2 separate regions of the Homo sapiens genome follow, and region 1 is linked to region 2. The links are contacts of gene promoters, found by promoter capture Hi-C in blood cells and fetal thymus (Javierre and others, 2016). All regions are on one chromosome and are shown on one strand. The core of a region is centred on a gene start or on the middle of the fragment in contact, and the rest is flanking DNA. Distances in the headings are between cores, read along the strand shown. Region 1 overlaps PIK3C3 (phosphatidylinositol 3-kinase catalytic subunit type 3). Region 2 holds the start of RMP24 (ribonuclease MRP subunit p24).

What was found. The method cuts DNA at HindIII sites, captures the fragments that hold promoters and counts their contacts. A CHiCAGO score of 5 or more calls a contact.
Region 1: a contact is called between a fragment that was not itself captured here and the fragment with the promoter of RMP24 in region 2, in 1 of 17 cell types (non-activated CD4 T cells). The highest score is 6.3, in non-activated CD4 T cells.

What each region holds. Positions count from the first base shown.
Region 1 is chr18:41,969,327-41,972,035 of GRCh38, reverse strand. It overlaps PIK3C3 (phosphatidylinositol 3-kinase catalytic subunit type 3), which reads right to left. Exons shown (of 25, transcript NM_002647.4): 4 at 1,580-1,709. Among named protein-coding and RNA genes, the nearest start is that of PIK3C3, 15 kb to the right of the region's middle. The HindIII fragment of the contact is 760 bases long and covers 1,071-1,830 here.
Region 2 is chr18:35,971,286-35,973,985 of GRCh38, reverse strand. RMP24 (ribonuclease MRP subunit p24) reads right to left here and starts at 1,307. Exons shown (of 5, transcript NM_031446.5): 1 at 1,181-1,307; 2 at 1,079-1,101. The coding sequence starts at 1,257. It overlaps LOC105372066 (a long non-coding RNA gene), which reads left to right and starts at 1,535. Exons shown (of 4, transcript NR_188032.1): 1 at 1,535-1,588. RefSeq lists an enhancer at 625-1,517 and silencers at 1,437-1,586, 1,526-1,820. The HindIII fragment of the contact is 7,007 bases long and covers 770-2,700 here.

The DNA of each region.
Region 1 (2,709 bases), core at 201-2,700, 6.0 Mb before region 2:
CCTGAAAAATGTCATAGTTGTTACAAAAATTATTTTTTAAACCTTCCATCAAAAAGAATTAGGGAAAAAAATTAGAAACCTAACTTTTTAGGTGAACAGAAGCCTAAATAATGTGTTTAACAGAGAAACAATGTAGTTACACTGTGCAACTATAAAGCTTTATATTTCTTGACTCTGGCCATTCCCCCTCAGACTTAGAATTTCACCTACAATATGAATCATAATGGCTACTCTTAAAAGACAATTTAAGAGCTTTTTTAAAAATATTATTCTTTATTCTTTTTTAATTTAACCTTTTTCATATTATAGTGACCCACAGGCTATAAATGAATTGATTCTAATAAAATTTATATTAACTATTCAAGGTTTGTAAAAGGGACAGAGAGTAGCTCAAATGAAAGATCATCACTAAGATAAAGTCTTAAAGGTAGACATATGAAAAGCTTGAGACCTTTCCTATATCCCACGTCAGAATGCAAACAAAATCTCAGAATGAGTAGAAGAAATGAATATTAAATTTTATTTAATTATGGATGGGAGAAGCAGACAATAGTATATTGGTCAATATAGTTATCAGGTTGCTACAACACCATTTTTCCTTAAAAGAGCAATACAAAAGACAAAATGAACTTGACAAAAATTCTGTGTTGAAGCATGAAGCCTAGCCAACCCAAGTACTTATTCTTGAAGATTTCTTCTATATGTGGGTAAAGGCAACAAGCTGTTAAAAGCTTAGCAACAAAACTTCCTCCAGACATTAAAGAGGCACTCCTACTAATAAGATTGCAAAAAAAAAGTATGTATTATAACTACAAGAAAGTGTCCTAATCAGATAACTGTAAAGGGATCCTTAAACAGTATCTAACACAGTGCTTTGTGAAAGGAAGTTCACAAAATAAATGACAGCGTTGCAATTAATGCACGGAATAGAATTTAGTTTTTATATTTCTAAGTGAAAACACTTGATTAAAACAATTTTGAAAGAAAAAGGTAATAACTTCATTTGCTTACAAAGAAACTTTATACTAGTTAATTGTCTGAGTCATCTTCACTTCCAAGTGGCATAAGCTTCTCTAGAATGTTACACTAACAACTTTAAGGCTATGTCACCAGAAAAAGTGGGTGGTCATCTTGAAAATATCACCAACGCTCCACATTTTCAAACCTGACAGATTTCCAGACATAAGGTCACATACTGAATGATTCCATTTATATGAAATTTCCAGAACAGGCAAATCCATACAGATAGTAAGTAGATTAGTACTTGCCTGGAACTAACTGCAGGGAGCAGAAAATGGGAGTGACTGTTAATGGTGCGGTTTCTTTTAGGGGTGATGAAAAAATTCTAAAATTATATAGTGGTGATGATTATACAAGTCTGTAAATTTACTAAACCATCAGACTGTATGCTTTCCAAGGGTGAACTTTATGGTATGTGAATTATATCTCAATAAAACAATTATTTAAAAGTTAAGATTTAGATTTTTTAAAAATCTGACAGAGTTCATAATGTCAAGGTATATATACTACAATAGACATCAGTCAGAGCTTTGCACCTGTTCCAAATGACTTTTTTTACCTTGGCAAGACGGCTCATCTGATCTTCTGAGAGAGTGCTACTTGTTCTGCCAGGAGTTTTTGTGGGTTCTGATCCATCTGCTTCTACATTAGGCCAGACTTTCAAGTCATGCATCCCTTGGCGAAACATGCTAGGGAAAAAGAGAATGTTCAGGGTAGAAGTAAATTAATACAGTTCATTACAGGAAATTTTAGATTCCTAAAAATAAAGAGAATTCTATACATGGAAATGTATATCTCCACTGCCAAGCTTTAAGCCCCCAATGGAATGTAAAGCAATTAACCAAGCAACTAAAATCCATGTCACACTGCTTTGCACATGCCATTCTTTTCTCCTCCAAGCGCTCAGAACTATGACAGAGAATTCTACACAGAGAGTGGAAGGAGAGAAGGATGAGAAATGAGCACACACATTTCATCACTTTGGTGAAGATCTAAGGAATAACAGAGATCAAATTCCTAACCAACTGAAGAATGCCACATTTACAATGACTAAAATCAAAATTTAAATAATTACATAACTGTTTTCTTTAAATGACATTACAGTAGACTATATAGTCAAACTGCCTGTACTTGAATCACAGCTGTGCTATTACCCACATAACCTAGGGTAAACTACTTAACCTCTCTGTACCTCGGTTTCCTCTTTTATAAAATAGGATAAAAGGACTTGTATCCCACAAGGTAACTGGAAAAATTAAATAAATCAATACAAGTAAAAAGTACTTAGAACAGTGGCTGGCATACAGTTAGTATTCAATAAATGTTAGCTATTACTAGTCTTTTTGCTGTACAAATTGATTTCTCCTTTCTTTTCCATAAAAGGCATGTTCTAAAAGTGAATACAATAGTAGATTCATACAAAAACATTTCCCATGTCTATAAATCAGAAATTTAGCACATAGCCAGAATTCAGCCTAAGTTTGGTTATCCTGCTTCAAAGTGAAACAATATATAACCTTTGTCTTGTTTTTGTCAAAAAGCTACCAAGAACATATAAAGATGAAACAAACTCATAAAGAGCTTTAGATAACTATGTGTTTTAATTATGCTGCTGCCAAGTTCCCATGTTTCTTTCTGATGGGGAGGTTAAAGATGTTCTTCTGTTAATGCGGTTTCTTTTCAAAAAAA
Region 2 (2,700 bases), core at 58-2,557:
TACAATCCTTTTAAAGGACTTTCACTTTTATTAATCCAGGAGAGAGCTGGTGATGGCCTGGAGCAGGGTAGTAGCAATGGATGTGGTGAGGAGTGGAGTGCAATGGCGCCATCTCCGCTCACTGCAACCTCCACCTCCCGGGTTCAAGAGATTCTCATGCCTCACCCTCTCGAGTAGCTGGGATTACAGGCGTGCACCACCATGCCAGGTAATTTTTTTGTATTTTTAGTAGAGACAGCGTTTCGCCATGTTGGCCAGGTTGGTCTCGAACTCCTGGCCTCAAATGATCCGCCCGCCTCTGCATCTCAAAGTGCTGGGATTACAGGGGTGAGCCACCGCTCCTGGCTGATTTTGGCTACATTTTAAAGCCAACAGGATTTGCTCGCATACTGGCCTGGGGGAGGAGAGAGAGTTAGGGAGTCAAGAATAGCTCCAAGGTTTTTGGGCTCAATAACTGTAAGGGAAGAATGGAATTATTTACTGAAATGAGAAAAACTGGAGGATCTTGTTGGGGGTTAAAGCTCAGGTTTTGGACATATTAGCTAAGTTTGAATTACTAGACATTGAAAAGAATTTGTCAAGAAGACATTCGGATATATGAGTCTAGAATTCAGAGGAGAGGTCTGCGCTGAGTATATACATTTGTAAGTCCTCAGTATATGGTATTTAAAAGCCATGAGATTGGATGAAAAACTGTCACCAAGGAAGCGAGTGTGCCTAGAAAAGAGGTCCAAGGGCTGAGTACTGGGCCACGACAATACTTAAAGCTTGGGGAGATTAGGAGGAACCAGCAAAGCAAATCGAGAAGTAATAAATGAAGAGGTGAACTACGTAATGACCTAGAAGCCAAGGGAGGAAACTATTTCAAGACTGATCAATGTGTCAAATGCCGCTAACAAAGCAAGACAAGGCACATTAAAGAATTTGGATTTTTCACGAAACCGAGACACATGCGGGCTTTGTTGTTGTTGTTTTTATGGAGGGAAGTGAGTCCATCGGCCTTATTTGAGCGTTGTGCGGAACAGAGGAAAGCGGGGCGACAAGAGCCCAAAGCACAAGAGACAGGCGTTCTTCTTACCGTGCGACGAAGTGTAGGCCCAGCTGTAAAAGAGAAAGAGACTTGTGAGGAGCAAAGGAACACCTACCCGCTCGCCTCCCGCTTCCCCTCCAGTCCTCTTACAGGAGGTAGCGGGCTTGGCCCGGGCAGCTGTCGTGCAGTCCCCGCGCTGCAGCCTCAAGGTAGTGCTTCTGTCTCATCGCCGCCGCCGCTGCCGCTGGCTCGCCGCGGGAACCAGGTGAGAAAATAGGGCGCCGGAAGTCGGCTTCCCAGCGTCCCCGTCGTTGGTGTCCGGACTCAAGCTGCTTCCGGAAACAGGCACCGTAGGCAGACAGGTTCCGGTTTCCTTCGCGTCCAGTCTGGCTTGGAGGCGTGCCCAGCCGGGAGGCGGCCCCACCCGCCCGCCGCGTCCCCGCCCCCTCAGTTCCACCCCTTGGCCTGCCGGGTCCTCTCAGGCACCCAGCGGAGTTTCGAGTCAGACTTGAGCTCGGGCGTAGCGGCTAGACCGGGCTGTGGCGATAGAGTCCAAAGGTGAGGCTCCCACCCGCCTCTCCATCTTCCTCCCGCCTCGCCTCCTCTCTGACAGCCCTTTTGTGATTGCCCTGCCGCAGCTTCGCCCTCCACATTCGCCGGGCGCGGTACTGACTGGTGCGCCGGCGGGCGGAAGCGCTGCCAGCAACGAGGCGGCCGGGAGGAGCGTCCCCAGTCCAGCCTGCCCTCCGCCTGCGTAAACGCTAGCGTTTCTCTTTTTGTAATTAAAGTGAAATTCACATAACGTAATATTGACCATTTTAAGGTGAACAATTCAGTGGCGTTTAGTAAATTTACAATGTTGTGCAAGCACCATTCTGCTATTTCCAAAATATTTCGCCGAAGGACAGCCAACTCCATGAAGCACTTACGGCCAATCCTCCTCTCCCTCCCAGGCCTTGGCAACCACCAGTCCGCTTTCTGTCTCTATGGATTTACCTATTCTGGGCATTTCATGTAAATGGAATCATACACACGACCTTTTGTGTCTGGCTTCCTTCACCTAGCATAATGTATCAGGTTCATCCACCTTGCAGCACGTATCAGTACTTCATTCGTTGTTATGGCTGAATAATATTCCATTGTATGGCGGTATCACAATGGTTTATCCATTCATCAGTTGAACGTTTGAATTGTTTCTACTTTTTGGCTGTTATGAATGAATGCCGCTGTGAACATGTGTGTACATGCATTTGTTTGAGTGCCTTTTTTCTGTTCTTCGGGGTATAATACCTAAGAGTAGATCTGCTGGGTTATGTAGTAATTCTGTGCTTAATGAGGGTTCCAGTTTCTCCGTATCCTCACCAACATTTGCTTTTCTTTTTCTTTTTTTTTTAAATCTAGCCTTCCTAGTGAGTATGATGTAGCATCTCATTGTGGTTTTGATTAACATTTCCCTGACTACTGATGCTTTTGAGCAGCTTTTCATGTGCTTGTTGGCAATTTATGTATCTTTGGCTGTTTAAGTTCTTTGCTCATTTTTTATTGGAGTTGTCTTTTTGTTGATAAGTTGTAAGGTTCTTTTAATGTGTATGTTCTGGATAGTGGACCCTTATTTAGCCTGCTTTATTTATTTATCTGAGATGGGATCTCACTCTGTTGCTCAGGCTGGA